Linked DNA regions of Homo sapiens: regions 1, 2, 3 and 4 are each linked to region 5. The links are contacts of gene promoters, found by promoter capture Hi-C in blood cells and fetal thymus (Javierre and others, 2016). All regions are on one chromosome and are shown on one strand. Each heading gives the region's core, a stretch centred on a gene start or on the middle of the fragment in contact. The rest is flanking DNA. Distances are from core to core; before and after follow the strand shown. Region 1 has its middle 93 kb from the start of MIR4473. Region 2 overlaps MLLT3 (MLLT3 super elongation complex subunit). Region 3 overlaps MLLT3 (MLLT3 super elongation complex subunit). Region 4 has its middle 260 kb from the start of SLC24A2. Region 5 holds the start of HACD4 (3-hydroxyacyl-CoA dehydratase 4).

Region 1 (4,740 bases), core at 1,626-4,125, 710 kb before region 5:
TTGTAACAGAAGAATAAAGGTGAGGCCAAAGCAACCGCTATCAAGCTTGAGATCAGCTTCCATACCTCTCCCCAAAGCAAAGCCATGTGCAGGGGAGAGGATGTCTATTACATGTGGGTGACCAGAGTACTTAGGGCAGCACAAAGTGGTAGTGGAGAGGAGGGGAGGGAGAGCTGGATGTAAGAGGCTCCCCCAGATAATCTGCCATGGCTGTTGCATTCGTTTCTGCCTTCATCCATTCGGTGTTGCCATAACAGAATTCCTGAGACTGGGTAATTTATACAAGAAAGAGGTTTATTTAGTTCACAGTTCTGTTAGCGGGAAAGTCCGACAGCATGGCACTGACATCTGCTGAGCTCTGGCGAGGGCCATGGGCTGCTTCACTTTCAGTGGAAAAGCAGAAAGGCCAGTGGTCACACACAAAGAGGCAGGCAAGAGGGGCTGGGCTCACCTATAACAATCGCTCTCTCTGGAACTATTCCCTGCATAGTGAGAGAGGTGATAGCAGCGTTACTCCAGGACCCAAACGCCTCCCTCTAGGCCTCTCCTCCCAACGCTGCCATCAGGGGAATCAAATGTCAACATGAATTTTGGTGGGGGCAACCCACGTCGAAACCATGGCAGTTTTCTCGGACTGACATAACAAAATGCCACAAGGTAGATGGCTTAAAATATTAATAATAGAAATGTATTGTCTCACAGTTTTAGAGGCAAGAAGTCTGAAATCAGTGCCACACGGGACATGCTCTCTGAAACCCAAAGGGGAGGATCCTTCCTTGCCTCTACCTGGCTCCTGGTGGTGGCCATCAATTCTTGGCATTCCTTGGCTTGCAGCTGCATTGTGACAACTTTTGTCTGTGTCATCAAATGGGGATCTCCCTGTGTGTCTCTGTCTTCCCATGGGTGCTCTCCTGTGTCTAAATTTCCCTTTTCTTCTAAGGATTCCGTCATTGGATTAGGGCCCACCTTAATGACCTTATCTTAACTTGATTACATCTGCAAAGATCTAACTCCCAAAAAGGTCACACTCACAGGCACCAGGTGTTAGGACTTCAGTATTTTTTGGAGGACACAACTCAACTCACAGCAGTGGTCACAGGGAAGAGGAACTACTGCTACTCACTGTGACGCTTATCATTCATCCAGGAAAACAGAAATCATGCTGAGAGTTTAAAGCAGAGGGGATTTGGTGCAGAGAAGAGGTAACAGGTGATAGGGAGGCTGAGAAGCCAAAGAGGAGGCAGCATACAACCCAGAGATTAGCAAGAGCAGAAAGCTGCTGCCATGCCTCAACTGCACAGACAAATTGAATGTCAGGGTTAGGCAAGACTTGGGGCCTGGGTCACCTACTAAGTGGAAATGAGGACCATGGCAGCTCTGTCAGGAGGAAATTGGAGCCAGGCAGGAGGAGAGAAAGAGGATAGAAATACCTGGGCTTCTTTCATCCTCCCACCCTCCAATCTCCTGCCAAGGCCTCAACAGGCCAGAGATCTGGCTGACACCGGAGATTGCAGGGATGGCCTCCTGACACACAGAGAGAGCAAGGATTGGGAGAGAATAGAGCTGAGGGCAAGCAGCCCAGGCCTGGCCTAATATCCACTGTGCATGAGTCTTTAAAGTCTCACAACTTAGGATGTGAGAATTACTGTTCTAATCTTACAGAGATGCCGAGACTGTGAGAGTGTCAGTAGCTCACTCCAGAGCGCCAGCTCCGAGATCCATTCCAACTTGGGTCTGCACATGTGGTGGCTCTAGGGGCTGTGGCTCCTTCCCCTCCACGTTTGTAGGTTCCATTCTGATTCCTTCTTGCCTCTATCTGTGCTGTCCCTAAATACACAGGCCCCATACAAACAAACCACATGAGGGAAAGCCCTCCTGTAAGGGACCCAGTGGACAAGGACAGACTCAACAACCACTGGGTCACCATCGATATTTCCTCTCTTGCCCTTTGGGCTTTTGCTCAGATCTCAGGCCATACCTGCTCCCTCTCTGACTGCCCCTCTCCCTCTGTGACCTGGCCCTGTAAACATCCTAACCCTGCTTCCCTGGTGAACTTCTTTTTCATCCTCGAGACCTTATCCTAGTCAACACGTTTTCCAGGAGGCCTTCTCTGGCCCCTCAGACCAGCCCACCATGTGCCCCTTGGCTGCAGGCAATTCCTCTTTCATTATCCTCATGCGCTTTGTGATTTGGGGCCTGGTGGGACAGTCTGCTGAACCATTCATTCATGGGTGTTCTGTGGTTCCATTTCTTCATTTCTACCAGGTGCCTGGCTTTGCATTCCTTTGCTGCAGGGATTTTTCCAGAGAGAAAGTGGAAGCTGAAGGAAGACATTGTTCTTCATGTAAAACACCCAGTCCTTTGCAGGCAAAGCAAAGGGTGAGAGCCCTTCCTTCGATGACAGGAAGAGAGGAGAGAAATTCTCAAGGTGGATGACGGTAGACAGATGCTGAGCTTAGCAGAGACCAGACTGAAATGTAACCAAGTGTTAGTGGAATACTTTTCCCCTGAATACATTTACTAAAAATTCAGCCTTTTAAACAATTTTTTGTTTTGAGTTGGTGTCTTCCTCTGTCACCCAGACTGGAATACAGGGACACAATCATGGCTCACTACAGCCTCAAACTCCTGGCCTCCAGAGATCCTCCCACCTTGGCCTCCCAACATGCTGGGCTTTTTAACAATTTTAAGTCATATGTTGACATGGCTGCTGTTAAGAATATGACAGATGATAGAGGAAAGAAATTGGACAATTAAGTGCCCAGTCTCCTATTAGAAGTTGGACAAGAGTACCTACTCCCCTATCATCCAAGGGTGGCTCAGGCCCTATTCTGCAGACCACCCCCTCCCCTCCCTGGTTAGAGCCTGCCTGTGTCTCCGACAGAAGTGTGCCTAGGGAGCTGTGAATATTCCTCAGAGAGATGGCCAAGGCGTGCACCTGAGGACGCCAGGGCCTTGTCATGGACTTTCCAGCTCAGGTGGACATTCATATACCCACAGGTCACACTGACACAGCAGAACACACTGAGCTGCCTCACATCTTGGCCTGCTTGCCCATCTGGAGACTGAGGTAAAATAGAGATGTTGGCAGCAGCTATGATGGACCAGAAACCAGAGGCCCTTCCTGTGTTTTCAGAATCCTCGTGAAGGCCCTGGGCTTCTGGTGCAAAACTAGGAGTTGGAATTTCCTGCTGCCCTGGCAGGATGAGAGCTTAGAGTCAGCTTTGACTTAAAGAAAACAAACAAAAGTGTGTATTTTTGCACATGAATTGTTGACTGAGGTTCATGCCCACACGATTTGTTTAACGTGTGACTTTTCCAAGTCCCTGACAGCCAAGACTGCCTGAACTCACGGCCCAACGCCCCAACGCATAGTAAGTGCTCGGTCAATATTTCCTGAGTCGAGTGAATGGGTAGTTTTGGAAGTCAAATCTTGGAAGAGCATTTCTCTGTTTCCTCCGGGCAGACCCTGCAGGCATCAGCTCCAGGAGGCATTCGTCCTGACGGTCCCCTAAACCCTGCTGACACATGAGCAGACACTGCACAACTGCACTGGCGGTTTCTGTCCAGACAGGCACTCCCTCTGTGGTGAGAAATACCTCTGAAGTTGCCTAGCATCTTGGGGCTCCTTGCCCATCTTTAGAATTTTCAAGTGCCCCAAGCTATTGTGAATGTGTTCAATGTTTATATTCCAAGCAGCTTGAATCTATGCCTTGCAAAAATGCAAGTTGGAAAGTTAATTCATTCCTTTATGTCAAGGTAATTGCAGTTTCACCCTAATCCTCTCTTGTCAAAGACATTTCTACAATGCAGGGAGTTATCTTTTACAAGAGACACTTCAAGGTGATTTAATAACAACACTTGCTATGAGTCACATTTTCCCTGTAGTCATCTACTCTTCAGCTTGGGAGAGCAGGGCTTCAAGTACAGAAGAGAGAAGGCATTTGGCTAGTCACATAACCCACTTACACACGCTCAGCCAAATGTACACCTTCAAGAGAAAAAGAAAGCCCTAATGAGCACTTGTGGTAACTAAGGTGCTAAACGAGATCTTTCCAAGCAATGCTATTTTTGTTTGTTTGCTTTAGGGCAAGCTATATTCACTCAGTGCTTTGAAACTTAAGACACGTATGAATTTCATGACTGCGGACAAAGAGGAAATTTGATATGGAGATTAATTATTAATTCAACATTTACTGAGCCCCTACTATGAGCTGTGCTAGGGGCTTGGCTACAACAGCACACAGGCTTGCCTGCCAGCTGCCCTCACCAAGCTAGTGGTCCAGCAGGACTGCAGATGTCAAACAAATAACAAAGGCCAAAGATGTCTCTTTCTCTCTCTGTCTGTGTCTCTTTTAAATGCAAAACTATAAATTTATTTTATATACTCCTTTTTACTTCATCTGCATGATAAAAGGAATACAGATGTATTTTTTAATGTAACCAAATTCCCATCTCACTGCGCAGTAGGAAAAAGTCTACCCACTCCTCACAGTTTCTAGTTCTCCCCTCACAGTGGAGCTCATCAAAAGGCAGAGGACATTGGCTGGGACGTGACCAGGTTTCAGGCAATTTGGGAGTGAAAGGCCAGCAGGCAGCTTTATCTTGAAGACTGTTCAGCTCCACAGGGTGACAGATTCTCCCACCAACCATGTCTCTGTCAGCCTCAGCCCAAGAGAAAATTGAGCTGAATAAGAGAGGTCTCAGTGGAAATTATATTGGAAAGACTCACCATAATGG
Region 2 (4,886 bases), core at 161-2,660, 630 kb before region 5:
TTAGGTTAAACACCTTTTAGCTGTCCTTTCAGTAATAATTAAAAGCTTTTCCTTTGACTTAGTGACATGGTTCACAACCACATATAATGAAAGCAACATAAATCTTTCCTGTGTGGTACATTACATGCCCTCCGATAGATTAAAACATGCCAGCCAAGTCTGCACTTTTATAGGCTTTAAGCTGTTGAAGAGCCAACAAAAGTACTGATGGCAGAGCATCAGGTAAACAGGATGAAGGAAACCATCGGTAACAACTGTACTGTAGAATTTTCTGAATGCAGGATCCTGTGTTCAGGACAGCATAGGCTTGTTCTTGGAGAAAGCAGAATCCCTACCTTTAAATTCCCAGTTCTATTCAGTAGACAAGATGAAGCATAAAGGCAAAAGTTAACTAATACATACGAATACAGCATCTATAATGGCAATGTCACCTCATGAACAGAAACTATCAACTAAAAGGATAAAATGCCTACTATAAACCATATTTTCAGGGTTTTTTTTTTAAGAGAAAGTCATCTCTTTTAACATCTTGTGAGTAGCACTTTAAACTTTGGGAACTCTTTTACACATATAGTCCCCCTAACAATATGTGAAGTAAGGCATGGAAAGAAGGAAAGAGGGAAGACAGAAGGAAACTAGAAATATTCAGGTTCTACTGGAATTTACAGACTACCAACTATGTGCCAGGTACTTTTTACTACCCTTTGATTCACACAATTTTGTGAGCTATTATTCACATATCAGAGATTATAAAATTAAGATTCAAAGTTGTTAATAAGTATTTTGCCCCAGATCACAGAGCTAGTTAAACTGTCAGACCTGGGGCCCTTTCCCAGGTCTCAAGAGTCTTTCTGGGGTGTTAGTTTTTCAATTGGTTTATAAAACACAGTTTGTGTTCCTCACCAAAATATGGACAATCTGCTTGCCTGGGCCCAAAGTGCTATGGTTCCAAGCAGATTCCTGCACCACCTGGCATATATTTACAGGAGCACACAAGTTCAGAAGGGAAATGTTGGTGGGCGTAGATGCCGTCAAAGCTGACAGAATCTACAAACTCATCTAGAAAGAAATGCATGCAGGAAGTGAGGTATGTATGACACTGTCATTGATAAAATGGAATAATGGAAGAAAGAAAAGGCAACAAAGGGTGTTGTTGCTGGAGTAAGGCTTATCCTAACTCAAAAATCAAGGAAAAAAGAACCACAATCCAAGGTGAGGCACAATCAAGATTTCTGGCTAGTGGAGATCTGTCAGGTGAAAGATGCTAGAACTAGTTAAACACATACACACACTTTAAATATTTTGCTTTAACTGAAAATTTATAAATACACATTAATCAACCAATCCTTTGATGCAGAATCAAGCAGTTTTCAGTGGGGTCTGAAAAATCTTTCTTAGATAAATCACACTCAATGCATTATCTACGATCATCATTTATGAGCAAGAAGCCAGAGACTTGTATAGCTGTTAGAACGCAGGAGTCCTTCTAGAGTCTGATAATTTTTTCTGCCTTGGTGTTTTATACCTTATTTGAAAGCATATTTTTTCAAGGGATTCCCCATCAGGTTTCAACTTAGTTTTCATAGAAACAATTGCTTTTTGTACATTATTGGTTTCTAAAACATTTAATTAACATAATTAGAAGAACAACTGATACATATCTTTGGGAACAACTACATTGGCTTCTCAGTGAGTATAACGTTCAACTTTTGGGAGCAGAAGTACACAGTATAAGCTAGCACCCACCAGCGATTGGCAAGAGTGAGTATGCTTTTCAGGCGATTGGAGAGAATTGTTATCAGTGCAGGCTCATTACTTGAGCTTCTTTTGACTGCGGAACATGTAGGGCCCTATAAAAGCTGGGTAGAAAGGCAGCTCTGCAGGACCCATCAGCATGCAAATTACAACTTAGGGGATCTCCAGAAGTGAATACAGGAGGCAACCCATCAATCTATATTTACCTAAGTTTTAGGGTGTCTTAATAAGGTTTCAAAGTACATGTGCTGAGGCTATGCCTTTCCTTAAGAAAACAGAAGGTTGTGATAACATCTTCCTTTCTAAAATGATGACTGCTGTCTTTAGAGTTCATTTTTTTTCTCTTAATAATCTCAGCATCCCACAGTGATAAATTATATTTGGGTATAATTTTTGTCTCATAGATGTAATGGCTCTTTTAAAACCACTCTTAGAAATGCTACAGTGTATCCAATGAATATAATTAAATATATATGTATTTCCAAATACAAGTGCCAACAAAGACACAACTAAGACCCTAATTTTTAGGGGAACTAACTTCATCTTCCACATCTTGTTTCTGTCACTATGCTAGTGTTCAATATAACTCTCTTTCACAATACTTGCCCCTTTTAGTTAGAAACTTATATCTTTTGCATTTTTTCATTCATTCTTCTGCATATACAATGAATATTTTTAATTTTTAATTTTTTTTTATTTTTAGACAGGGTCTCACTCAGGCTGGAGTGCAGTGTTACAAGGACAGCTCATGCAGTCTTGAACTCCTAGGCTCAAGTAATCCCTCACCTCAGTCTCTCGAGCAGCTGGTGTGTGCCACCACACTCAGCTTATTTTTTAGTTTTTTTAGAGTCTCCCTTTGTTGTCCAGGCTGGTGTCAAACGGCTGGCTTCAAGCAGTCCTCCTGCCTCAGCTTCCCAAATGTTGGGATTACAGGCATGAGCTACATGGCTACAATAAACATTTAATTATACGGTTGTAGTTACTCAGATGTGATGGTTTAATAAATATTTAACAGCCAAATTAAGCTTATTAATTTAAAGCTATTCTGTCTTGACAATTATGCAACCTGAGGACACAGAAATTGGGGGAGTGGGGGAAGCAAGTCCCTTTTACACGGTATACAAGGGGCATTTTACCCGTTCCAATAATTTCAAGAGCACTGTAAACATTAGAGGGAATATAATCATATTTCACGATCACAAAGACAGCAAAAACAAGGTGGCCATATAACTTTCATGTTATCATGCCCCTGCACAGCCCCTATAGGAAATAGGGAGGCAGAAATTTCTTTCACTGCAACATCCTGTTATTGAAATTTCTCTGAAAACTATTTGCTTTTTTAAAATAGAGAAGCAAATGTCTCGGAATTTTAGACTCTGACATCCCTCTGCTGTCTCAATAAAAGATTAGTTTGTGGTCCTTGCTGCCCCTGTGTTATTTTTGTGGTTTAATACCCTTCACGGTGAAATCAGCTAAAAAACAAACAAACAAAAAAAACAACTCTCTTCTCTTTCTGTTGGAGTTTTCAAGAGCTACACACTCCTTGGCTGGCTTATGTACTCCAACACAAAGGCAAGGGGCTGCCCGGGCAGGTAAGAGTGAAATCCAATTTATGCAACTTGCTTACTGTGACCTCCAATTTATCCTAGGATTTTGTTATATAAACTTATTTGCATAAGGGTGGCTTACACCCTGTACTGTGTACCTCTGAGAGGGCCAAGACTTGTCTTATTTGTACAGGGAGTTCTCTCACTCATGTGACCTGTCTAGTCCACCTCCATAAAGAAGACAGACCAAAAATTCCATCTCCAGATTACACAGACATATTTATAGTTAAGACTCCTCGACTAGACATGCATCAATTACTTAAGAGGAGTCTTAACTATAAATACATACGCATATATTAACACATCTTTGCACTATTAAACTCAATATTTGTTGAGTGCCAATTAAGAGCCAGGGACCATGCAAAGAGCTGTGAGATTAGAAAATTAAGAGACAGGGTCTGCCCTCAAAATAGTCCACTGGTCAGGAGAAAAACACTTTAATATGACGGAAAAACAATCATCATCCAAGTATACATAAACTGTATACATGGTAGATGCACAAAGGAGGGAGGGGTTAGTTGGGGTGTGGCAGATTATTTAGAAAAGTTTCAAAGAATAAGTGAAAGTTAACCAGGTCATAAAGGACTCAGGGTAATATACTGGGACATGAGACAGCATGGAATAGTCAAGGAATCATGGATTGCTAATATTTTACGATGACTAAAGTATAGGGGAGAAGAAAGAAAGATAAGGATGAAACGGTCAGACTGGAGAAGGCTTAAAAGCAGTACTTAAAATATAATTTGAGGCATGTGAAACTGTTCGAGGCTGCTAGGGTACCAAAGTCATTCTTTTGAAAACAAATAAATGGAAAGAATCAAGCACTGTGTTTTACTTTTCTATACAAACTACTGCTGGTTTGGGGGGAGAAAGTAGATAAGGGGCAGTTTTTCTTTATAGGTGAACTCTGACAGATAAATGAAGAAAGAACGATGGAACAAAAATATCAGCATTTCACAATCCCTAATGAATTAATGCTTATACAGCAATGAGCATCAATGGTTGCTAACATCATTAAAAAAAAAGAGATAATCTTACATTATAGGCCTCCTAATAAAAGAATATAATCTACCCATGAGATGGTCTGGCCCAGAAAAACAAAACTAAAACAAACAAAAAAACCTAACATGACTCTGACCATGATTCTAACTTTGACTATTGACTTACAGAAAATACACCATGAAGATACTGTCAACAAAATCCAAAACCAGAAATTCTATGACAACCAAGTTTTTCTCCTCTTGCATCTTCATGTGAAAAAAGAGAGATGAGGGAGAACCTATAGATTAAAGAAATGTAATACTTTTACAAATTGCAAGATGTGAACTTTATTTAGATTTCAATTCAAACAAAATGTAGAGAAAAAAACTTACGATATTTTGATTCCATTGGAAATTTGTCCAGTGGCTAGATATTTGATGATATTAAGACTTAACTAATTACTTTAGATGTGATCATGGTATTTAGTTCTGTTTTTTAAAAAAGTCCTTATCTTTTAGAGACTCATATTAAAATATCTATAAA
Region 3 (5,309 bases), core at 2,099-4,598, 680 kb before region 5:
CTACTAATAATTTTATTGGACATGGATGCTGTATCTGGGCAGTGTATTGGGCACAGCGTTTTTTGGGGGAGGCAGCAAAGTTAGTATCAGGGCAATAAAAGAAAATTTGCACAGAGTAAACAGCTGACAAACTTCTACCTGATTTGAGTTGTCTGTTATTCTCTTTCTATCACTTACCTCTGATTCTCTTTAGGTCAATAATCTTAAAAAAGAGAATAATTTTAATTATTGAGCCTATCATTTATTTAATGAAGTTTTAGATTACCTAATGCCACGCTGAGTAACAGCAGAACTGAAACTTTTAACCTTCTCTTCTTACAATTAGCTTTCTTTTAAAAAATACAGTAAATTTGTGAACTACTCCCTATAGGTCAGTGGCTCTTAATAGAAAATGTGCTCCCCATTCCTGACATATTATTTGACTTTCACAGAAGCATGACATATTAACTCTCAATCCAATTAACTGCTCAACTCCAGATTGAGCTGTTATTGTCTTACCCAATCTCTGGAACTATTTTTTAGGGATATAACTACAGCCTTAATATTAAAATAAGCTACTCTCATAGTGGATGCAACAACAGATGCTGCAAACTAACTCCCTAATATCGATTTATTCCTTAATTTTTTTTTATTAACGGAAGGCCGTTTTTCTGAGAGCTGCCCAACTACAATGTTTGCCTCCCCAGACCTACTTGCAGCACTTGTCAGATGCTGCTATTTACAATTTATTTGTCAGAACTCACTGTTTTCAGGAATATTTCTGAAAAGGGTATGGACAATGGGTATGCATCTTTTGCCTTCTTTCCTTCTTCCTGTGTGCAATGGGAATGCAGTGCTTGGAAGTGCAGCAGCTGTCTTCCCATTAAGAAGACGAATACAGCTTATGAAAGATGGAAGAAAAGAAAGACAAGGAGCCTGTGTCATCAGTGGCATCTTTTAAGCCACTATCTCGACCACGGATTACTTACCTCCAGGCTTACTGTTATAGGTGGGGAGGGAGTCAGAAGAAAACCTTACTTGCTTAAACCACTAGACTCAAGGTTCTGTTACATGCATCAAGAAATTCTTAGAAGGAGTGTACCCAATTATGGTTAAAGTGCTACATTTATGTAAAAATGTATCCAACAAGATCTTATTAACACTAAAAGATCTAAAATGGACACACATTTGTTTTATTAGTTATTAGTAACAGAACTTTCAAGAAGTCTTCCACACATATCCACACACATACAGAAACACAAACACACAGCTATGCCCACAGAGGCTTTTCATGTCAATCATATACTTACTATATAATTAAGATCAATTGAACTAAGACTATGTATTTTCTGGAATAATTTTTTTTTGCCATTTTGTGCAAAAATACTATGAATCTAGTGAAAATGTGTAAATTTCAGGATGGAAACAAGTAGTCTCTTTAGAGCTATTATAATTTCAAATTTATGCAATGGAGGCAAATAACAAGCTGACCAGAATTTGACTCCTTTCCTCAGCGAGCTGCCCAGTAGGTAATTGACAAAGCATTCAGAATAGAGTTCTGGATCTGGCATATCAAGTTCTGACTCTGCAAACTTTTTCAATGGTATTAGACAGAACATCATAACCTTTGAGCCTCAGTTTCCTCATCTGGAAAATGAGAGTAATGCTACCTGTTCTACTTGTACAAGTTTGGGCAGATGATCAAATAAGGTATCATAAATAAAGCTTCTTATAAATGGTAAATTGCTACCTAAGTCAGGATAACATGATTATGATTACCTTATAAACTGATCCTTAATTATCTGGGAGGTGACTAAACTGCACATGAATTATAGACCTGATGCTTTTTCCTCTCGCCCCCAATGAGTGTTAGCCATTTCATTAGCACTAAAATAAATGAGGCAAGAAAATGCAGAAACTAAAACTCAGAAAGGCCGGCTTGAATTAAAAAAAAAAAATTGTAACTCATTCTTTTAAGAAAACAGTTTTCCACGACCCAATATAGTTGTTCCCTAATTATTTAATAACAAATAGAAAACTGGGCAATAAAAAAATCCCTTCTAGAAAAAAAGCCACTTAATTTTAAAGCATATAAACACTTTTGCCCACTAGAAACGTCAGCCCGGGCATTTCTCATGCATTGTGCTATCTTGCAGATCTCCAGTACTTCCATCACCACCCGCTACCTCCTCTATCACCATGTTGTGCCCGGCCTGCAGCCACACATGCACAACAATATAAAGGGGATCTGATAAATCTAACTAAATGAGCCCCACGTTTTTATGAGAGCCCACAAGAATACATCAAGGTAGATGCAGAGAAACAGCCTTAAAGTAGTAGCAGTGGCAGCAGCTGGGGAGTTGGGAATTATTTGCCAAAGGGAATGGCATTAATGATTTGAATTATTAGAGCATGTGCCCACATCCTCATTTAAGTAAGGGCTCCATAAAGAAAAATAAGTGTGCATTGCTTTCCAGGAATCCTGATAGTTAGAACGTCAGAAACAACATTAACATGCTTTATTCCATTGACACAGGCCACAAAGCCTGAACACACCCCATGAGTGCCTGAAGAACTCCACTGTGCCTTTCTACAGGAATACCCTCTTTGCTGATGCAGTGTGGCTTGACCTTGACGTCATTACTCTGCATCATAGTGCAATAATTAACGTCTGTCCAAAATAATAATAATAGTAGATAGAGTGACTGCAGATAAGAAAAACAGGCGGCCGGGCGCGGTGGCTCACGCCTGTAATCCCAGCACTTTGGGAGGCCAAGGCGGGCGGATCACGAGGTCAGGAGATCAAGACCAACCCGGCTAAAACGGTGAAACCCCGTCTCTACTAAAAATACAAAAAATTAGCCGGGCGTGGTGGCGGGCGCCTGTAGTCCCAGCTACTTGGGAGGCTGAGGCAGGAGAATGGCGTGAACCCGGGAGGCGGAGCTTGCAGTGAGCCGAGATCCCGCCACTGCACTCCAGCCTGGGCGACAGAGCGAGACTCCGTCTCAAAAAAAGAAAGAAAGAAAAACAGGCAACCAGGTACATATGGGTAGTGGAAAAGGAAGAGTGTGTAAACTGCTTAACTCATTCTTCAGATGATGGTTGTTGTGAAAACATTCATGATGGATTATTTCCTGCCACATCAGCCTTTCAAGCGGTACTACGCAGGCTGTTGGATGTCTCATTTTGTTTTAAACAGGGTAAGATCCACTTGTCAGATCTGTGGCTCCCTTCCCCAATTTTTAATTATAAAAAGGTAAATGCATTGATTTTGGTCTGATTATAATTTCAAAAACCAGGGTTCTTTCCATGTGAAGCAGCCTCTTCGCTGTGTGGGGAGTAATGAACAGGCCTTACTTTAACTGCTTCTCTATGGAGTAGAGCCAGATCTGGGATAACATAGGTCTTCCCATAGAATGGCCTCTACTATGGTCTGGAAAGCACGGACAACCACCACATAAAAATGTGTGCCCTACCCTTGGTTAAGGGATAGGCCATCAGGCTCCAATCTACAAGGGGTGCTGAGATATGACAAGTAATTTCCCAGGATGGAGAACATCATTTTCATCAGAACATTTCTCAGGGAGGGTTCTCTGGGTTCTTAGAAGGAATATTCTAATACGCCACAGATTCCCCATTCCCTGCAGACAATTCGAAAAGAATGACGGCTGGCTTCTAAATTGCTAAACTACTCTCTTAGGAAACCTGGTTTCCCACAGAGTTTTCTTCCCCCAGACGTGGATGCAAATCCAGGCTTAGAGCTGAATTGCTGGGGAGGTTACATATGTTCAATCTCACTTTCCAAATAAATGTGGAACATGTGGTTTAAAGAGCAATCAAATTATTCATCAGTCCTAGGTAATCACTTCTCTTGGTTTGACTGTGTCTACTCTACTGTATTTATACCCTTTGAAAAAGTGGCTTAGGAACACAGGCTCCTTGATCCAATGCTGTCTGTTCATTAAACTAGCTGCCGAGTGCCAGGACTGCATGCCCCCAGAGGAAAACAAAGTTATTAACCGCTTTTTGTGAGCCAAATAAAATCGTCAGGCCAGATTTTTGGATAGGATGCATTTAACAGGAAAGGACCTAGATGTGATCCTGGGCCCACCAGAAATTCTGCTTCAGGTGTTCAAGTCTGCACGGCAGAGAATACGTAGACTTTGTGGAATGAATTCCATGAGATGAGCAGCCCTCAAGGTGGAGAATAACATTAGTCCTCAATAGTGCTATGTTTTACAAAAGGAATTAATTAAGCAGTAAACCGTGACAGGACATGCATCATGGTATCATAATCACAAGCCTCAGCTGCATTACAAGGCAAAAGGCCAAAGACTGAGAGCTTTCAACCGGCCTGGGAATGCAATTAGGGTGAAATGCTGTGTGCCCTGGAGTGCCTTTATGCCAGGTTAAAAATTCACAGATATTACTCTCTCCCTCTAGAATACTAAAATAATCCACTTGGATGGAGTTCTCCAGTAAGCCACCTTTCTTCGCAATTCTTATAAGGTCAAAATAAAGGACAACATTAAATTGCGAATGCCAATGACACCCCAAGGTAAGATCTGCCCAATGGCCTAGTATCCTTGACTAACTGATAGGGCTTTCTTTGTGAAGATGTCCCAACCCTGCACAAACATCTGTCCCACCCTCCTATGAGACTCACTATTTGGGCCCAGCTTGGGCATTAATAGCTTTATTGGACAATTGCTCCACAGTGGTTCAGAGCTGGTGTTTGGGAAGAGACGAGAAAGATCATGCAATAGATCTGCAATCAGCATTATGCCAGCCCCAAATATTTGGAAAATGACAGGTAAAACAACGTTCGGTTCTTCAAAAGAGGCCTAAGAAGAATATTAGCAAAGTACTAGACCACCACTCATGGTAGGCCACTTAAGTCCTGCTTCCTTACCCATACTAACTAAAAAGAAACTGCAAGAAATGCAACTTATCTGCAATTAAGAATCATAGGTCTGTAGTCTTTTGTTCAAATCTAAAATTCTACAAGGGTTAAAAAGCTTATCAGGCCAGTCAGGAAACTTGGCAAGTTTGAGAGTATATATTTATAGATGTAAGCAAAAATGTACACAGAATATAAATGTGACCACCAGCCATTAAATGTTAAAAAAAAAAAAAAAAACCCACACACAGCTGGGGTAGATTAAGTACTAACGTCAAGTCATTTGAAAGTAGTAAAAAAAAAAAGAAGAAAAAAATTCAAACAGCGAAACAATCTACATGTCTGCCCTGGAATTTAGAACACACATTCTTCTCTTTGGGTGTTAAAAAAAATTACCAATAGCTGCTGGTAGTGCAACAGAGGCATACAT
Region 4 (4,722 bases), core at 646-3,145, 990 kb before region 5:
CATTTGTGGTGTCTAGGGAAAGGAAAAGAACAACTTCACTTAAAGATACAGTCACAAGAGAGAAATCTGAACTGAGTGTACACCCCTGAGGAACTCTGGAATATCTGAGAAAGCATCAAGGATTTCATTTGCATAAGGACATCTGAGCCTTCTGGAAGAAATGTTATAGAGGACTTTTAGAGCTGACAGCTTGATTCTGCAATCCTAGATCTAAGATTTCTGAAGTAAGAATGAAAACCAAAGTTATCTAACCCTAGGGGACTGAGTCATGGGAGAAAGCACCCACCAAGGTAGGGGTGAGAGGACATGGCCTTCCTTCTGGGTCCTAGGCCTTATTGCTAAGGGACATGTTCATTTATCCTTCCAATATTCTCCTTTTCAGTAGCAGAGAATGCAGGCATACCTCCTTTTATTGTGCTTTGCTTTATTGCACTTTGCAGGTAGTGTGTTTTTTACAAATTGAAGGTTTGTGGCAACAATATCTATGTGCCATTTTTCCAACAGCATGTGCTCACTTCATGTCTCTGTGTCATGTTTTGATAATGCTTGCAATATTTCAAACTTTTTCATTATTATTTTATCTGTTGTGGTGGTCTGTGACCAGTAATCTTTGATGTCACTATTTTAATTGCTTTGAGGCACCACAAGCCATGCCCATGTAAGATGGAAAACTTAATTGATAAATGTTATGTGTATTTTAATGGCTCCAATGACTGGCTTTTCCCCATTTCTCTCCTTCTCCTTGGGTCTCCCTATTTCCTAGACACGATATGGAAATTGGACCAATTAATAACCCTACAATGGCCTGTAGGTGTTCAGGTGAAAGAAAGAGTCACACACCTTTCACTTTAATTCAAAAGCCACAAATGATTAAGCTTAGTGAGGAAGGCATGTCGAAAGCTGAGACACGCCAAAAGCTAGGGCTCTTGCACCAGTTAGCAAAGGTATAAATGTAAAGGAAATGTTCTTGAAGGAAATTAAAAGTGCTACTCCAGTGAGCAAAAGAACGAAAAGAAAGTGAAACAAACTTATTACCTATATGGAGATATACAGAGTGATGAATGTTGTTTTCTTGCCTGCTAACACAACACCCATTCTGCAGCCCATGTGTCAAGCAGTAATTTTGACTTTCAAGTCTCATTATTTAGAAAGTACATTTTGTAAGGTGATAGCTGCCATAGATAGTGATTCTCTCTGATGGATCTGGACAAAGTATATTGAAAAGCTTCTGGAAAGGATTCACTATTCTGGATGCCATTAAGGGCATTTGTGATTCATACCAGGAGATCAAAACATCAACATTAATGGGAGTTTGGAAGAAGCTGATTCCAGCCCTCATAGATGACCTTGAGAGGTTTAAGACTTCAGTGAGAAAGTCACTGCAGATGTGGTGGGAATAGTAAGAGAACTTGAATTAGAAGTGAAACCTGAAGATGGCACCGAATGGCCACAATCTCATGACAAAACTTGAACAGATAAGGAATTGCTTCTTATGGAGGAGGAAAGAAAGTAGTTTATTGAGATGCAATATGCTTCTGATGAAGTTGCTGTGTTGAAATGATGAAGAGGATTTAGAATAAACTTAGTTGATAAAGCAGTGGCAGGGTTTTGAGAGGACTGACCGATTTTGAAAGAATTTCTACTGTGGGTAAAATGCTATCAAACAGTATCACATGCTACAGAAAAAAATCTTTCATAAAAGGAAAAATCAATCAATGCAGCAAATTTCATTGTTGTCTCATTTTAAGAAATTGCCAGAGCCATCCCAACCATCAGCAACCACTACCCTGGTCAGCAGCCATCAACGTCAAGACAAGACCCTCTACCAGCAAAAGATTATAACTCACTGAAGGCTTAGATGATCACTAGCACTTTTTTTTTTAGCAGTAAAGTATTTTTTATTGTGTATATTTTGAAACACAATGCAAACTTTTTATACATAATGGTATTCCACACTTAATAGACTATAGTGTAAACGTAACTTTTACATGCACGACGAAACCAAAAAATGTTGGTGACTTGCTTTATTGTGATGGTCTGGAACCTGAACCTGAAATATCTCTGAGGTATTCCTGTATATGCTAAGCCTTAAAGCCTAAAGGTCTGCAATCACAAAAGACAGAACCTACCATTTCTGCTCTGAAAAGAGCAGTATTTGTGAGCACAGGATCCCCGAACCACCATGAACGCATGGGGAGGGCAGGGAGGATGTTTAGTTTCACTTAACATTGGGAGGCAGGGTTGTGCTCATGGCTGTGGAGTTACCGCTCATTCCATTCCTTTTGCTGGGTCAAGGAAACCAGGATATCTAGGTGGAAGATTCTGGGCTTGGGTCCTCACTGGGTCCTTGGGACAACGCATATTTTATCTCATCTAATCAATTGGGGATAAAAATTATACAATGACCCAGATCATAAAAGAAAACTGATGTGGAGCTATAAAGCTCCAAAGAAATGCAAATTGTTATTTTCTGCTACAGTGTTAGAATTCTGATTATCCTATTTTTTTGTTTGTTTCTTTGTATATAGGCCCTAATGCTACCATGCACACAGTATCACTAAGTCATTAAGCTTCCATAATACTCAGTGAAGCAAAAATTACCCCCAACCACTCATACTTGGTTGTTTTTAGAGTGACTCAGCACAGGGTGAGCACATGACTTACACAGGTTACATCTTCAAGTGTTAAGATTTATCTGGTATGTGGCTGTCAACAATACTGGGGACCATTTGAGAGCAGGAACCATCTTTTCTCTTGCTGCCTGACTAGCTTCTAGCACAGTGTCTGGTATAAAGTTAGTGCTCAGTATATTTTTGTTGTATTAAATAAAATGTATCAATTTAGGTGCTTTAAACATTTCTATACATGGATCGTATAGATATACTATGCATTTGGCAAAAATTTATTGAGAACTTACTATATGCTAGACCCTGTGCCAGGCACTGTGTATACGATGTAAAAAGGATGCTTGCAGCCTAGTGGGGAAGACAGACCTCACCAAATGATCGCATTAATAAACACAGAATTGCAAAAGAAGCACAGATTTCTCAGAGAGCGTGTACAAAGCAGCTGATCTACTAGGTGGGGAGTCTCCCTAAGGAAATGATACTTCAGCTAAGACTTGAAAGAAGAGTGAGAATTAATATGGTTAAGTAGAACACAAAAAAGGAACACCTTATTATTATTATTATTATCATTATTTTTCAAGACAGAGTCTCGCACTGTCGCCCGGGCTGGAGTGCGGTGGCACAATCTTGGCTTACTGCAATCTCTGCCTCCCAGGTTCAAGCGACTCTCCTGCCTCAGCCTCCTGAGTAGCTAGGATTACAGGCGCCCGCTACCACGCCAGGCTAATTTTTTGTGTTTTTAGTAGAGGCGGGGTTTCACTATGTTGGCCAGGCTGCTCTTGAATTCCTGACCTCGTGATCTGCCTGCCTCGGCCTCCCAAAGAGCTGGAATTACAGGGGTGAGCCACTGCACTGGGCCACATGTTATTAATACTATGTGCCACACACTGTTCTGCTGGCCGTCCATGCATGCTTATATCATTCTCACAATGATCCTGTTTGGAACTACTATGAGTGTGCCTAATCATACGGTGAGAAAATCAAGGTGTGAGCGGTCAAGTGTCTTGCCCAAGAGCCAGTGAGTGATGGGTTTGAACCTGGTAGGCTGGTTCTAGAGCCACACTCCCCACATATGGAGAGAACAACTAGTGCAAAGGACCTGTGCCTTAGCAGGCAACAAAGAACAGGTCTACTCACCCCCAGGCTGGCCAGGCTCCTAGCTGCTCTCATATCAAAAGTCCCAACACTGACAGCTCTCCTTTCAGAAGAAGAATTCTGGTGAGTGTGGTGTCCTCATCTTGTTTCATCTGTAAGTTATCTTTCATGGTGCTAACACACACATGCTTGTGGAAGCCAAGGCACTGAGGCTGAATGGCCCAAAATAAAGACAAGTGCCCACTGTGTGGGGTGGCCAGCAAATATCTCAACACAGAGGCTTGTCAGCATCCATCTTCATACTGTCTAATTGCTTCTGAAGTAAGTAAGGAAAGAAAAAGAAAGGGACAGGCAGACAGGCAGACCCAGAAGGTTTCTCTGTTGCATCTGGTGACTGTAACTCACAGAGTAAGGAAGCACTTAGGCAGACAATGCCCAACCTTCCTCCAGATTGGCAATGCCAAGGGCTTTTTTATGGGCCCTTAAAATTGGTTATCAAAGGAAATGCAAATTGAGTTCATCTTTGTCTTGAAGCCATATGTCCTCTGGGATAAAAACAACATTTTTTTCTGTTAAGAATGCTATCCAGGATTTACTTGGTTACTACAGCTTGAGTGTGCACAATGTGTTCGGGGGGCAGTAAAAGGAGAAAGTGAACACTCAGAGTTACAAGTGAACCTCTATAGTCTTCAGAATGAGAGAAAAACAGTTTGCAACCTAAGAAGCAGAGATGGAAAGGAAACCTACTCTGTGGTGGGACACTGCCCACTTTTTCACAGTGGCCCTTACTCATCTTCCTTTATCCCCAGAGAATCTCATTAGCTATTTGATATTACTTATTGCCTTTCAATTTTTTAAGCAAAGTTTTTCTCTCCTCTTAAAACAGTTTTCTTCCTAGTGATCCTCCAGGTACTGCTTCTTTCTATCTACTTACTAATAAGACCCAGGATTCTTTTTTTTCCCTTTTCTAAATTCTTCTTTCTAGTGTCCAGATGGAACA
Region 5 (5,193 bases), core at 741-3,240:
AAATATCATAAACTGAAAATATCATAAGTTGAAAATGCATGTAATACAACTGATCTACAGAACATCACAGCTTAGCCTAGTCTACCTTAAACTTGCTCAGAACACCTACATTAGCTTACAGTTGGGTGGAATCATCTGGCAACACAGTGCACTGTGGAGTACCGGTTGTTTACCTTCCTGATCATGCGGCCGACTGGGAGCTGCGGCCTGATGCCGCGGCCCAGCATCATGAAAGGATATCATACCTGCACATCGCTAGCCTGGGGAAAGATTAAAATCCAAAATTTGAAGTACGGTTTCTAATGAATACATATCATTTTCACACCATCACAAAGTTTAAAAAATTGTGAGTCATGGACCATCTGTATAGTGAGTTTGCTTAAAACCAAATATAGTGCTTTTTCAAAATCTGCTTTCATCTTTGATAAAGTTCTAACCTTGCTGCTCACCAAGGAATAAAAGAAACCACTGCGAAGGTGGCTTTGAATATTCTTTAAAAAAACAAAACAGGCTGGGCGCGGTGGCTCAGGCATGTAATCCCAGCACTTTGGGAGGCCAAGGCGGGTTGGATCACTTGAGGCCAGAAGTTCAAGACCAGCCTGGCCAACATGGCAACTTACAAAAAAAAAAAAAAAAAAGCCGGATGTGGTAACGTATGCCTGTAATCCCAGCTACCTAGCTGCTCAGGAGGCTGAGGCAGGACAATCACTTGAACCTGGGAGGTAGAGGCTGCAGTGAACCGAGACAGCGCCACTGCACTCCAGCCTGGGCGACAGATCAAAACTCTGTTCTCAAAAATAAATAAAAAATAAAAAACAAAACAACAACAACAACAAAAAATCCATGTGTGCAGAGTGGTTGACATGTCACTATGTGTTCCAGTAGCTCAGCTTGCTAAGTGCAGAACTTGAGACACAGTGTTTTAGTTCTGAAGGGGGGTAGGGATGGGAGTAATCCAAATGTTGGGTAATTCAGTAATTGGACACACCTGACTTTTGAACACATTATGTGATTGAGGTTAGTATTAACATCTTGCCACTGCCTATTAACATTTTGCAAGGGTAGATAGTTTCCTTCATCAGATACATATCGAAAGCAGTTTAGTTGCTCATACCAGAAGAGGGAAGTCAAGCTGGGTTTAACAATGTGTTGTGAGTTGCTGGGGAGATGACTAAGAGAAGATTGACAGATAGATGGTTTGAGGGAGTTAGGAAAAGCACTGTTTGAAATGTTCCCTGGGAGTTCAGAAGAGTGACGGGAGTGGCCCTGCCAGTGTGGTCAAGATTTACTCCTCCTTGAAGATGTGAAACCTCCTAGAAACAAGGAAAATAAGCTGGGAGGCAGAATGATTTTTATTTGGGGACATCCTCCCCTATAAAGGCAGGAACTGCTAAAGGGTTTGGGAAGAGGAAATCCTCCTTCAGCTTGTATCAGAATTACCTGGCTTGTGGGTTAAACATATACACCCCCAGGCCCTACCGCTATATGACTGAATCTGTTCCCCGCCGGAACTAGGCCCTGAAATCTATACGTGTGATAGGTGTTTCCACGGCTGTTACATCTAAAAATCACCCCGCAACTCTGCGTCTGAGAAAGTCAAGAGAAGGCTCCTGGGGGGAGGGAAGTACTGGCAGAGGGCTCACAAGGGCAGGGGTAGCCATGCAGCCTGTCCTTCCCATTCAACTGTAAAATGGAGAAAATAACAGAGCCTGCTTCCTAGGGTGGTCAAGAGGGGTAAGTTAGCAAATACCTGCATGAGCTCCAAGGGGTGCCTGGGCACGGTAGCGCTGCGCCTTGCTGGCGGGCGGGGGGTGCCGCCCGCCCGCCCGCCGCAGAGGGGAGCTCCCGCCTCCAGGCCCTCCACCCGCGCCCCCTCCCCTCGGGATTCGGCCGAGCGCCCTACCTGGGCTGCAGCCAGGCGGGCAGCGCCAAGGGCCCCATGGGCCGCCGCCGCCAGGGCTTCCAGCGCGGTCCAGGAAGGAGTACCGGGGAGGAGGCAGGGGCGGCCCCGCGGCTGGGCGCGGAAGGGCGGGGCCTCTCCACACTCAGCAGTTTACAAAAAGAAAAAGCCCGAGGTCGTGCGTTGGGGAAGAGATGAAAACGAAGTTCTCGAAGTTTCTGCAGCACTGCTAGAGCGCGTCAGGGCGCAAGGCTGGGAGGCGGCTCGCGTTCCCGGTGGGGTTACCAAACTCTGGTTACAGCTTCCTAATCTTTGTGTTGAGACCCCCTTGCAAGCCTTCTGGAAATTAATGCATCTGGGCGATTTCCGGGGCCTCCGAACTCGCTGAAGCCCATCCCCAAACCTCCCGAGATGAGTGGATTCCAGGGTGGGCTCTGCTCAATGCCCACCGGTGAGCCAGGTTCAGACACGAAGCTTGTGCCGGGCGCAGTGGCTAATGCCTATAATCCCAGCACTTTGGGAGGCCGAGGCGGGAGGATCTTTTGAGCCCAGGAGTTCGAGACCAGCCTGGGCAACATAGCGAAAACGCGTCTCTACTAAATGTACAAAAATTAGTCGGGCATGGTGACGCGGGCCTGTGGTCCCAGCTACTCCAGAGGCTGAGGTGGGAGGATCGCTTGAGCCTGGGAGGTCGAGGCTGCAATGAGCCAAGATCACGCGGCTACACTCCAGCCTGGGTAACAGAGCGAGATCCTGTCTCAAAAAATAAATAAAAATAAAACGAAGTTTGTAGCACACCTCCCCAACACTTTTTCAGCTAGGGGCCTGATTCCTCTTCTATCAGGCCTCCCTGCTCTCTAATCTCCCTTGGGTTCTCACTGGTGCCTGCAAATCTTTATTCACGTTGTGTTAATTTCTCTAGCCTATGCCCAGCACTGCTACAACCCCTTCGTGATCTCTCAGGCTTATGACATCACTGTCTCCGTACACAGATGACCCACCCTCCTGCTTTGCTAATAAGATCCAGCCCATCTTCAAGCTCCTCTGCCCAGAAAGGGAAACGTTAAAACAAAAACAGAAACATCTAAGAAGGCACTTGCAAGTAAGTGGGACAATGGCACCTGGTTTTGGAGTTGGAAGTTAGCGCCCCCATTTTTACCAAAAGGGAAGTTGAGGCATTAAAAAAATGTTAAGTCACTTGGCACAGGTCACACAATTGATAAAATGGCAGTATCAGAACTTCAAGGTTGGTGGGATTTCTTGTTTGTTTCCCATTAGGCCGTGGCTTCCTTTTTTCATAGTCCATTCCATTCACTATGCCTACCTCTCACCTCTACATTTCTCTGCACCTTCTCTCATACCCTGCCCTCAGTCGGAGGTTAACCCCAACTTTGTGTTTACCAGTCCCTTCTCAGACTCACTGCATCAGTAGTTAACCATCGCCTCTTCTTGCATCGTCATCCCCTCCTTTCCATTGGCTTTCACTGCACTTTAGGGACATAGACAACTCTCTCTTAGCATATAATTAAACATTGTATTCTTTCTGTTTCTCTCTCAATGGAATCTTCTAATAACTCCCTGCCTGCCTTCTCTGATCAGGTGCTTCTTTCATTTCCTACCATCTTCCTGTTCCATAATACCTTACAGTTTGACTCTCCTGACACTGCTCCGTCCGCGAGCATGTTAATTTTTCGCCGAATCCCTATCCTGTATCACCTTGCAGGATGATGCCCCACGGTCCTTGCTTTTACAGAACATTTGATCTAAAGGGTAAACTGGTGGCTAACCCATTATCAATGCTATCTCTGATCAGGTTAAGCAGCAAGAGAGAAAGTAAAGTCCCAGATGGCCTGCAGTGGGGCAGGAGGGAGAAGGTGGAAAGCCTGCCCAGAAGAATTGATCCTTTGTCACCAAACACAGCCCCTGCATCCACATCCTCATTGACAGGTCTGCTGCATTTTACCAGTTCTGTCTGTCTGCCATTTACCCCTGAAGTTCTACATATTCTACGTCTCTTGCCTTATGTCCCTTCTGTCTCTCTGGATGGGTCTTCTTCTCCTGCTGTATTTCCTCAAAAGTCTGCCCTTAGTCACCATCCATTTGTCACCATGTTATCCCTCAGCATAGACAACCACACATGGCTTTATCTCCATGTGGACAACTTTTGACTATTATTTTCAGCCCTTTCTTCTTTTATGAATACTATCTCTGGCCTTTGAGCAGCTTTTGGATATTTCCTCATGAAAGTCCTATTGTTTGGACTATCTTTGGAACGTCTTCCAATTCAACCTATTTAAAATAAGCATACTATCTCTCTTCCTAAATCATTATTTCCCACAGAAAGACCACCATTTTTCTAGCCACTTGATTTTAAATTGGGGAGTCATCATTAAGCACCCCATCCAATCAAATTCGATTGATCCCATCCTTTCCAGATCTCCTACTAATCAGTAGTGTTCTTTGTCCATTCCTTATTTTCCAGTACCTGGGTGAGGAGTAATTGGCCTCCCTCACATCCATTCTTTACATCATAACTCAGTTGACTTTCTGGAGCGTCTTGGGTTATATCTTTCTGCTGCACAAAAAGAGGCCCTTTTTAGTTGCCAAAAAAGAACAAGCCAATCAGTCGAAAAATAAAAAATCCTTTCAAATCAAGCAGTTAGCTGATTCTACGTTATTTCCCAAGGAAAGAGTACAAAAAGAGCTTAGGAGAGAACATTTTGTATGAAAAGTGAAATTCTCCCTTTCCCCTGGTCAGTTCCCAGTCCTGCCCACGTCCTGCCAGCATTATCAAGATGGCCTCCCCCAGCCTCCCTGCCTCCAATCTCTTTCCTCCTTCTACCCAGACTGCCATAGATTATTTAAGGATGGCAAAAATATTTCTTAAAACACAGTTCTGATGTAGCCATTCTCCTGGTCTAAATCTTTTGCTGACTCCCCGTTGCCTGCTACAGTATATCTCTTCTTGCCCCTAAACCTGTCACATGCTGACATCTCCTACCATCCTATCCCCTTACCAAAAATCACAGCAACCTGCTGTTCCATGACCACACCAGGCATTCTCTGGCCAATGTGCCTCTGTGAAAAATTTCCCGTCTACTTTTTCTATTCTACCTCCTCCCCTTATCACAGCCCAGTACTTACCTGTCAAAATTCTATTCATTCTTTAAAAGCCTTCCCAAAGATCCCCTCTGGGAGTCACATAGGCTAACGTATGTCTATGTTGGTATTTATCTTAGGGTATTGTTGTTGTCAAGGTACTTGACTATTTAACTAGATTATAGATTCTCAGA

What was found. Contacts are between HindIII fragments. The CHiCAGO score rates a contact against its expected background, and 5 or more counts as called.
Region 1: a contact is called between a fragment that was not itself captured here and the fragment with the promoter of HACD4 in region 5, in 2 of 17 cell types (naive CD4 T cells and naive CD8 T cells). The highest score is 5.5, in naive CD4 T cells.
Region 2: a fragment that was not itself captured here is called in contact with the fragment with the promoter of HACD4 in region 5 in 1 of 17 cell types (megakaryocytes); the score reaches 5.8 in megakaryocytes.
Region 3: a fragment that was not itself captured here is called in contact with the fragment with the promoter of HACD4 in region 5 in 2 of 17 cell types (naive CD4 T cells and erythroblasts); the score reaches 5.8 in naive CD4 T cells.
Region 4: a fragment that was not itself captured here is called in contact with the fragment with the promoter of HACD4 in region 5 in 1 of 17 cell types (non-activated CD4 T cells); the score reaches 5.2 in non-activated CD4 T cells.

Annotation. Positions count from the first base shown.
Region 1 is chr9:20,316,207-20,320,946 of GRCh38, forward strand. No RefSeq gene overlaps it. Among named protein-coding and RNA genes, the nearest start is that of MIR4473, 93 kb to the right of the region's middle. The HindIII fragment of the contact is 5,665 bases long and covers 44-4,740 here.
Region 2 is chr9:20,395,668-20,400,553 of GRCh38, forward strand. All of the region lies in intron 5 of MLLT3 (MLLT3 super elongation complex subunit), which reads right to left. Among named protein-coding and RNA genes, the nearest start is that of MIR4473, 13 kb to the right of the region's middle. The HindIII fragment of the contact is 2,735 bases long and covers 44-2,778 here.
Region 3 is chr9:20,347,609-20,352,917 of GRCh38, forward strand. All of the region lies in intron 10 of MLLT3 (MLLT3 super elongation complex subunit), which reads right to left. It overlaps LOC124902129 (a long non-coding RNA gene), which reads left to right. Exons shown (of 4, transcript XR_007061434.1): 1 at 1-3,179; 2 at 4,423-4,537; 3 at 4,698-4,792. Among named protein-coding and RNA genes, the nearest start is that of MIR4473, 61 kb to the right of the region's middle. The HindIII fragment of the contact is 3,293 bases long and covers 1,703-4,995 here.
Region 4 is chr9:20,042,245-20,046,966 of GRCh38, forward strand. It overlaps a transcript of SLC24A2 not described here. Among named protein-coding and RNA genes, the nearest start is that of SLC24A2, 260 kb to the left of the region's middle. The HindIII fragment of the contact is 1,345 bases long and covers 1,224-2,568 here.
Region 5 is chr9:21,029,650-21,034,842 of GRCh38, forward strand. It overlaps HACD4 (3-hydroxyacyl-CoA dehydratase 4), which reads right to left and starts at 1,991. Exons shown (of 7, transcript NM_001010915.5): 1 at 1,904-1,991. The coding sequence starts at 1,941. LOC105375989 (a long non-coding RNA gene) reads left to right here and starts at 1,993. Exons shown (of 3, transcript XR_007061435.1): 1 at 1,993-2,351; 2 at 2,823-3,002; 3 at 3,714-4,270. RefSeq lists a silencer at 1,767-2,126 and an enhancer at 1,770-2,330. The HindIII fragment of the contact is 3,612 bases long and covers 1-2,372 here.